Regions from separate parts of the Homo sapiens genome. Here regions 1 and 2 are each linked to region 3. Evidence: promoter capture Hi-C in 16 types of primary human blood cells and fetal thymus (Javierre and others, 2016). All regions are on one chromosome and are shown on one strand. Each heading gives the region's core, a stretch centred on a gene start or on the middle of the fragment in contact. The rest is flanking DNA. Distances are from core to core; before and after follow the strand shown.

Region 1 (3,230 bases), core at 67-2,566, 1.7 Mb before region 3:
TGGTTGAACCCCTTTATTGAATTTTTCAGTTCAGTTATACTATTCCTCAGCTCTATGATTACTGTTTGGTACTTCTTTAGAAAATCCACTTTTCAACTGATAAACTAACTATATCCATTTCTAGGGCTGCCGTAACAATGCCACAGACTCAATGACTTACAGCAACAGAAAATTATTCTTTGCCAGTACTGGAGGTGAGAAATTTGAAATCAAAGGGCCATCAGGGCCATGTTTCTTCTGAAGGCTCTAGTGGAGAATCTGTTCCTTGCCTCTTCCAGCTGCTGCTGCTTTTTTTTTTTTTTTTGAGACGGAGTCTCACTCTGTCACCCAGAATAGAGTGCAGTGGCATGATCTCAGCTCACTGCAACCTCCGCCTCCTGGGTTCAAGTGATTCTCCTGCCTCAGTCTCTCAAGTAGCTGGGACTATAGGTGTGTTCCACCACTCCTGGCTAATTTTTCTATTTTTAGTAGAGATGGAGTTTCGCCATGTTGGCCAGGCTGGTCTCGAACTCCTGACCTCAGGTGATCTCCCCGCCTCGGCCTCCCAAAGTGCTGGGATTACAGGCGTGAGCCACCGTGCCCAGCCCTCTTTCACCTTCTTGTGGCTCCTGATGTTCCTTGGTTTGTGATAGCATAACTCCAGTCTCTGCCTCTGTCTTCAAATGGCTGCGCTCGCTTGCTCTCTCTCTCTCTCTCTCTCTCTCTCTCTCTCTCTCTCTGTGTGTGTGTGTGTGTGCTCTCCTCTTCTTGTAAGGATACCAGGCATTAGATATAGGGCTCACCCTAAATCCAGTAAGATTTCATCTTCAAATCCTTCACTAGTCACGTCTGAAAAGATCCTATTTCCAAATAAGATAACAATCAGAGATTCTGGGTTGACATAGATTTTGTGGGGACGTTATTCACTTCACTACACTTGTTTTTATATTTTGTATACTTTTAGTTTTATGCTTTCTTTCTTAGTTTTTGAGTAACTTTTAAATTGGTTTGATAGAATGTATTAGTAAAATGTCTGTGGGCTGGGCGTGGTTGGTTAATGCCTGTAATCCCAGCACTTTGGGAGGCCGAGGGGGGGCGGATCACCTGCGGTCAGGAGTTCAAGACCAGCCTGACCAACATGGTGAAACCCCATCTCTACTAAACATACAAAAATTAGCCGGGCGAGGTGGTAGGTGCCTGTAATCCCAGCTACTTGGGAGGCTGAGGTAGGAGAATCGCTTGAACCCAGGAGGCGGAGGTTGCAGTGAGCTGAGATCATGCCATTGCACTCCAGCCTGGGCAACAAGAGCAAAACTCCGTCTCAAAAATAAAAAATAAATAAAATAAAATAAAATGTCTGTGGAATCCTAAGACATTGAAATTGATATGAGGCAGGTTTTCAGTACACTGGATTCATGTTCTGATACAGGAAGGAGGTCATAGTAGCAGTGCCTGGCACATAGTAGGTGCTGGTACTCAAATATTTCTTGAATGAATGAATTTGTATGATTGAATGCATTTCTGGATAATTCTTATTACTACAAGGAATTCAGTCTATTCTTTTCAAAACTGTATATACATTAAGAATTTCTCTGATATGTTTAACTTCCATTTATGTTTTATTAAAAGGATGTGTATTTTTACATGTCTTCTGAGGATTATCTTTTTAAAAAAATCAAATTTCACTTAACCATGTTCGGAAAAAGCATAACTTTAAGAGTCTGACCTGGGTTGAAGTTTTGGCTTTTCCACTCATTAGCTGTGTAACTTTGGGCAAGTTATTTCATCTTTCTGTGCCTCAGTTTCCTGTAAAATGTTGCTAATAATGCCAAGTCTTCCAGGTTGGTGAGAGTGTGTCAGTATGTTTGGGTACAAAGTGAGTATGCTGCAAATATTAACTAGTAAGTTGTATACTTTAATTATGTATTGTAAAGGAACTAGATTTATGTTGTAAAAAATTGTTTTTGTTAAAAAAAGAGCCCTTGTTTATTAAAACTCACATCAAATTAAGCTGCTTTTTTCCTCTGTGTTCTTCTGTGACCAAACAAGTGTTCCTGTAGTAGGTGAAATCACTGTCAAGGATTGGTGTTATGTGTATATATGTCTGATAGTAATCTGTTGAACATTAACCAAAGTCAGGAAATGAGTTGAACTTTGGAAGGTAGAAATCTGAGGATTGGTGGTAGTGGTGGTGGGGTAGGAGTGGTGGAGCGGGTTGGAGGGATTGAAGTATATGGGAATGGGAGCTAGATACATTAAAATGACAGCTATTATTTATTTAGCACTTATGTACCTGGATAAAGGAATGCTATTGCATCTACATGGATAGGTATCACCAATCAGAGCTGAGATAAAACTGGCTATTCAGAGATTAAAACAAATAATTCAGGGCTGATTAGATACAGATGGGGGAACAGGTCTGGGAGCAGTGGAAAATAAATAACCCTAAATAATAAAGGCTACCATTTATTTATCAATCACTTGCTATATGCCAGGCATTGTGGAAAGTGCTTTACAAACACTATTCCATGTATCTGTTATAGTCACCCTTATGGAGTATGTGGTATTCTTATTTTAAAGATGAGTAAATAGAAGGTTGTAGTTTCTTTAACTTGCCCAAGTCAAACATCTAGTAAGTACCTTCAAACAGGAATAAAACCGAGGTCTGTGCGACTATAAAATCTATGCTTTGTATACATACTGCTTTCACATGTGCAATTGGAATTAGGGGTTCAACCCTATTCAACTCTACTTCCAAAAAAGGTGAATCTGCTAATACTACTTCCAATTGTTTTTTTCCCCTTTGGAAATTTTTTTTTTTGAGATGGAGTCTCGCTCTGTTGCCCAGGCTGGAGTGCAGTGGCATGATCTCCGCTCACTGTAACCTCCGCCTCTCGGGTTCAAGCGATTCTCCTGCCTCAGCCTCCTAAGTAGCTGGGATTACAGGTGCGTGCCAACACGCCTGGTTAATTTTTTTTGTATTTTTAGTAGAGATGGGGTTTCAGCATGTTGGCCAAACTGGTCTCGAACTCCTGACCTTGTGATCCACCCACCTCGTCCTCCAAAGTGCTGGGATTACAGGCTTGAGCCACCGCACTCGGCCTTGGAAATTTTTTTTCTAACTGATAAGAATACAAAGCAGCAAGTAAAATTCAAAAAGGATCACAGTGGAATAACTTTTCATTTTAGCATATTAACATTTTTATATGATTTTTTTGTGTAGCTAAAAAATGTAAAATGCATATATAATT
Region 2 (2,966 bases), core at 33-2,532, 1.8 Mb before region 3:
TTCTACTCCTGACAGACGGCCAGCTAGTGTAAAAATGTAAAATTACCCTTAAAAATAGCTTTGAAGAAACAACAGAAATAAGAGAAAAGCATAGATTTTAGGAATTAATAAAAGTAACTATAAGAAGCCCTTGAGTAGTCTCAAAGTTGCTTGAACTGATATATGTGTTGGGGCAAAAAGGTGAGGGGGAAGTTGAATCTAGCATGAAGAAAGAGTTCACAGAGGAAGCAGTGAGAGAATAGGTTGCAGGACAGCTTTTAAGTTCTGCTTTTTCCTGTCTCATACTTTGCCTTAGGAAAGCAATTCTCTACTTCTTCAGCCAGAAATTCGTACCCATGGCTGGGTGCAGTGGCTCGCACCTATAATCCCAGCACTTTGGGAGGATGAGGTCGGCAGATCACCTGAGGTCAGGAGTTCGAGACCAGCCTGGCCAACATAATGACACCCCGTCTCTACTAAAAATACAAAAATTAGCCAGGTGTGGTGGCAGGTGCCTGTAGTCCCAGCTACTCAGGAGGCTGAGGCAGGAGAATCACTTGAACCCAGGAGGTGGAGGTTGCAGGGTTGCAGTGAGCCAAGATTGTGGCCCTGCACTCCAGCCTGTCATCTCAAAAAAAAAGAAAGACATCAATACCCACAGGATCCAAGCCAGGTGTGTCGACAAGGTAATAACAGTGTCACTATGGAGCAGATCAAAGCAACAGAGTAGATGTACACACAAAACAGAGATGTATCTAATTAAGCACAGAGCTAGGTGAAAAAAGTAAGCAATAATATCAGGAAACTAATCTCAATTTTATAAATTAAAAATTCATAAAAATAACTCAGCTAAGGCAAAAAGAAATAAACAGAGATTTCAGCTGCCACCCATGGAAAAGGAGTCTAAATTTTGAATTTAAATACAGTTAGGTTAACTGGAGACAAAAACAGACTAAAATAATATTCAGACTCTTGGGAGAAATATAACAATCTAGAGTCTCTATGACCTATTATATACAATGGATAGAACACAATCCAAAGCTAATAGACATAGGAAGAAACAAGAAATGTAACTCATACTCAATGGACACTGAATCCAAAATGACCTAGATGTTAGATTTAGCATATAAGAATTTTACAGTCAGGCATGGTGGCTCATGCCTGTAATTCCAAAACAGTGGGAGGCTGAGGCAGGAGGATCACTTGAGCCCAGGAGTTCAAAACCAGCCTGGGCAACATCGTGAAAACCCTGTCTCTACAAAAAATACAAAATTAACCAGGCCTGGCGGTCTGTGCCTGTAGCCCTAGCTACTTGAGAGGCCGAGGTGGGAGGATGGCTTGAGCCTCAGCCTAGGAGACTGAGGCTGCAGTGAGCCAAGATTGTGCCACTGCACTCTAGCCTGAGCAACAGAGTAAGACTCTGTCTCAAAAAAAAAAAAAAAAACAATTAAAATTAAGTAAGTCCACAATGAATGATTAAATAGGAATTCTCAGAAAAAAATATAAAGTATTTTTAAACAGGAAATTCTGGAATTAAAAATCACAATATATGAATTTGTTTAAAATCACTAGATGGGCTAACAACAAATTGGAGATGACAGAAGAAAGTAAATATCTAACCTGAAGAACAGAGAGAAAAAATATTAAAGAAAACTGAGCAAAGTCTCTGGAACCTGTAGAACAATATTTTTAAAACTCTAAAATTCATGTACTCGAAGTCTCAGAAAGAGAGAAGAGAAGAAGTGAGAAAGAAAAAAATCTCGGTAAATAACAGCTGAAAAGTTTCCAAATTTGATTAAAAGTTTTTGTATAGATTCAGGAAACTCTGCAAACACTAAGAGAAAAAAAAAATCACCCCAGACACATCAGAGTCAACTGCTCAAAAAAAATTAAGAAAAAATCTTGAAAACAACCAGAGATAAATGACACAGCACTTACAGAGGATCAATGATAAAATGACTGAAGATTTAGCATCAGAAACAATGGAAGCTAAAAGACAGAGGAATGGCATCCATAACATGTTAAAGGCAAAAGTTGTAGAATCCTATATCCAGCAAAAGCAACCTTCTGGAATGAAGGCAAAATAAAAATATCTTTCAATAAACAAAAACTAAGAGAATTTACCACCAGCAGACTTGTACTAAGAGAAAAAATAAATAAATTTTTCAGGCTAAAGGAAAATAATATAAAATGAAAACCTGGATCTTCAGGAAAAAAGAAAGGCCACAGGGAAAGGTAAACATATTGGTTCCACCCAATGGTTGAACCCAACAACAAGCTGGAGGGGGAAGAGAGTCAATTGATACTGTCTATACAAGTTGAACTTCTATAGTGCAGAGCACACAAGGCAATAGTTTAAGCCTTTCTGAGACTGTGACACTGTGATATTTTTTACATAAAATTTCACATGACAAAGAGCATGAAGACCTTCCTTTGATTTAGAACTATTTTTTTCATTTCTCAGCTGCACAGACAAATATTACTTGGGAAAGAAACAAAGAATAGCCACGTGCCTCCAGTCAACTAGAGTGGATGGGCAGCCATTAGAATTACATTGCAGATCATAACTACATTATTATTAAGACTTCTCTTGATCTGTTTTACTAAAGATGTTAGACTGATTGTAATAATGTCCCCAGTTAATGGCTTTCTGGTATCCATAGTCTTTGCTATCTTATTTTGCAAGAAGTAGAACTTGTTTTCCCCCAACCCTAAACCTGGCTTTGAGACTTGCTTTGGTCAACAGAATGTGGCAGAAGTAATGGTGTTATGGGTTGAATTTTGTCCCCCTCAAAAAGATATGAAGTCCCCCAGTAATGCAGAATGTGGCTTTATTTTGTAAATAGCATCTTTATCTTTACAGAGGTAATTAAGTTAAAATAAGGTCATGGAGGGGGGCCTAAATCAGTATAATTGGTGTCTTAATAAAAAAGAAAAATTTAGACACAGAGACATGCACAGAGGATAGATGATGTGAAGAGACACAG
Region 3 (3,184 bases), core at 168-2,667:
TTTATTATAAAACAGGAAATTTGTAATATTTTGCTTGATTTAATATCATGAACATTATTTCCTATTACTAAGTCTACCTCTTCACTTTTAATCGTTGACATAATTTACATAATCCCTACCTTTGGTCATTTAAGTGTTTCCAAATGTTCACTCTTATTAACAACTTCAACAAATATCCCCAATATTGCTTTTTTTTTCTTTTTTAAAGTAAGCAGAGAATTGGAATAAATTAGAAATCCAGGGCACTTACTCATCCAACAGATATTTATTGAATACTTATTTGTGCCAGATATTGCATTAACTGGGAGCTGGGAAAACAGAACTGGTTAAGGCTAGATCTCCACTTTTAATTAACTTTCAGTCTCATGGAATAGAAAGATGAGCTGAGGAACTGGAGAGGACAAATCGCTCCTCTCTTTAAAGTAAATGTAGTTCAAGAGAAAGCTGCTGGGTCAGTGGCCAGGTGTGTGTGTGTGTGTGTGTGTGTGTGTGTGTGTGTGTGTGTGTGTGTGTGTGTGTGTGTGTGTGTGTACACATACGTATTAACTAAGCAGTTTCTAGAATTAAAATCCCTAATGTTAATAGGCTTATGCATAAAATAGATTAATCCACAACACCTGCATGAGCCACGATCCTAGGAGCTGCAGAGCCATAAAAGCCGGACACAGTACCCAGCAGCCTCGCCTCGGCTCCCGGCAGAGAACACCCTCTCCCCGGCCTCCCGGCGCTGGCGCGATCCCACCGCGGGGACCGCCGCCCTGGTCCCCGGCCGCTGCACCCCCTTCTCGCGTCCTACGCCTGGCGGCCAAAAACAAAACTGCCTAACCACTTCCACTTGGAGAAGCCCTCCTAGCCGAGAGGGGCATTCTGAAGATCAAGGGCGAGGCTGGAAAACAAACTTTGTTACGTGTTAACTTAGTTGGAGCAAAGCGATTCCAGGAAAGGAGTCTAAAACTGTGCGCAGCGTTTTTATAAAAAAATGTTTCAGTGGATACACGGGGGAGCGGGGCCGTCTATGGCAGGGCTTCAGAGCAAGCAGGAGACTGGCAGGCCGGCGAGAGCAGGTGGCCCGCCGGCCGCATCCCGGCCTCCTCCTCCCCGCTCGCCTGCATTTGGACGACGGCTTCCGCGGCGGCCGGAGGGGAGCATCCTCTACACTGCCAACTCGCATCAATGGGACTTTCCTCGTGGGAACTGCCCCTCCCGGCGGACGTGCCCTCCGGGTCCGGCGTGGGCGGGCGGGTGCCGCGAACTCCTTGCAGACCTTGGGTCGGCTCAGTGCTCCCTCAGCGCTGGGGCCGAGCCTGCACCACCCGCCGCCGTCGCCGCCGAGGGGGCGGGGGAGGTGCCGCGGGGGGCGGGCGCGGCGCGCGGGGAGGGGAAGGGGTTCTCGCGCGATTGGGCGAGGTTTCCGGTGTTGTGACTGAAACCCGTCAATATGGCGGCGATCGGCCGCGGCCGCTCTCTGAAGAACCTCCGAGTACGAGGTAAGCCCGCTGCAACCCTCACTCCCCACCGCCCGGCGCCCGCCACCCCTGGCACTTGCCTTCCCCTGGCCCTGGGTTGGGGAGCGAGCCGGGGCGCTGGCCGGAGCCAGGGCAGCCGCAGCTGGCCTGCGAGCCAATCCTAATTGGGGCTGTGTGTCTGTTTCGCGCAGGGCGGAATGACAGCGGCGAGGAGAACGTCCCGCTGGATCTGACCCGAGGTAACGCGGGGCGCCGCGGGCGCCGCGAGGGCGCGCTGCTGGGGAGGAGCCGGGTCCGGGGCTGGGGGCCAGAGGCAGGGGCGGGCCCCGCACGGGACCGGCGGGGTGCGGGGGCCAGAGCCGGAGCCCCGCCTGCCGGCCCGCGGGAACCGAGCCCGGGGCCGCCTCGCCGGACCCATCCCCCTACCCAGCGCCCGCTTCCCTCGCCCGAGCCCTTCTCCGGGCCTCGGGCTGCTGCGGGTGCGGGGGAGCCCCGAGTGGAACTCGGCAGACCCGGCGACCCTCTGGGCTCGAGCTCCGGCAGAGTGGTTTGCACCTATCCCGGAGTCCGGCAGCCCAAGCTAGGGGCAGCTGGAGGGAGGTAGAGGCTGTTATTTAGGTTGCAGGAGGATGTTTGAGGGAAGAGCGACCACATCCTGCCCTCCCCGTCCCCGGAGCAGAAGCCGGACCTGCTCGGTGCTTGCCGACTGCGTGACTGCTTTCCCCTTTGCCCACCGTCCTGTGGGGACCCGCAGCATTGATAACTTGGTAGTGAAACCTAGAACTGGTCATTACTGCTAAATGTCTGGTTTATGCTGTTTCCCTTCTGCTTCCCTTTCCCGGGCCGCTGGGACTGTAGTTGGCTAAAGACCGCCCCCTCACCCTGCTGCAGGTTCATTGTTTACCTTCTGCAGTGGAGATGGGTTTGTTTACACCTTCCGAACTGGGGAAACTCGGGTGATATTTTTAATGACCTAATCCCGTTACTAGCCAGTGTTTCCTCTATCACTTACAGTACTAGAGTTTATTCGACATTATCTCGTTGAAGATTTAGTAGTTACGTACAAGATTCTTTTCTCTTCCACGGTAAACAGGATTGAGCCTACTGATTCCGACGAAGTCATATTTCACACGGGCTGTAGCTTGGAGTGTAACCCGGTTCAGCTGTACAGAATCAGTTTCTGAGGTCTATAAAACACCTTAGGAAGTAAACAAAAAAACTTGTTGTAGACATTCTGTATGAGATCAGTTTTTTACCCTATGTCGTACCTGACGTAATGACTGTTATCTACAGTAATTTGTTAAAGCTGGGCTCCTTGTTGACAACGGCTAGAGTGAAAGCATAGTGCATTTTCTAATTTGTTTTATTTTGCTTATCACGATGTAAGATTACTGTTTTATAAACTGAATGGTCAGCTTTCACTTAGCTACAAGAGTACATTTTTATAACTTAATATTTTATTCTGAAAGTTCAGGGACTTAGTTTTGGGTGAACTAGGTCCTTTTACAAGACAGTTTCTAAAATATAATACAATATAGTAGAGCTTAAATCCTGAAAATGGCTACTAATTAGATTATCAATGCACTAATTTCCACCATTTTTTTCAGCAGATCGGTTTTGAGAATTAGTATAGAAAGATGTAAAGCTTTTGACTTCTGTGCAACTGTTTGGAAACTTGACTATAACACACATGTGAAAAATCTATATAAAATAGATTC

What was found. Contacts are between HindIII fragments. The CHiCAGO score rates a contact against its expected background, and 5 or more counts as called.
Region 1: a contact is called between a fragment that was not itself captured here and the fragment with the promoter of RICTOR in region 3, in 1 of 17 cell types (neutrophils). The highest score is 6.0, in neutrophils.
Region 2: a contact is called between a fragment that was not itself captured here and the fragment with the promoter of RICTOR in region 3, in 1 of 17 cell types (neutrophils). The highest score is 5.6, in neutrophils.

Annotation. Positions count from the first base shown.
Region 1 is chr5:40,783,329-40,786,558 of GRCh38, reverse strand. The region is part of intron 1 of PRKAA1 (protein kinase AMP-activated catalytic subunit alpha 1); the gene reads left to right. The region is part of intron 2 of LOC124900968 (a long non-coding RNA gene); the gene reads right to left. Among named protein-coding and RNA genes, the nearest start is that of PRKAA1, 13 kb to the left of the region's middle. RefSeq lists a cis regulatory region at 2,097-2,110 and an enhancer at 2,031-2,175. The HindIII fragment of the contact is 6,578 bases long and covers 1-3,230 here.
Region 2 is chr5:40,846,668-40,849,633 of GRCh38, reverse strand. The region is part of intron 2 of CARD6 (caspase recruitment domain family member 6); the gene reads right to left. Among named protein-coding and RNA genes, the nearest start is that of CARD6, 6.8 kb to the right of the region's middle. The HindIII fragment of the contact is 9,183 bases long and covers 1-2,966 here.
Region 3 is chr5:39,072,632-39,075,815 of GRCh38, reverse strand. RICTOR (RPTOR independent companion of MTOR complex 2) reads left to right here and starts at 1,417. Exons shown (of 38, transcript NM_152756.5): 1 at 1,417-1,487; 2 at 1,658-1,705. The coding sequence starts at 1,439. RefSeq lists enhancers at 1,005-1,531, 2,058-2,584 and a silencer at 1,220-2,119. The HindIII fragment of the contact is 5,742 bases long and covers 1-3,113 here.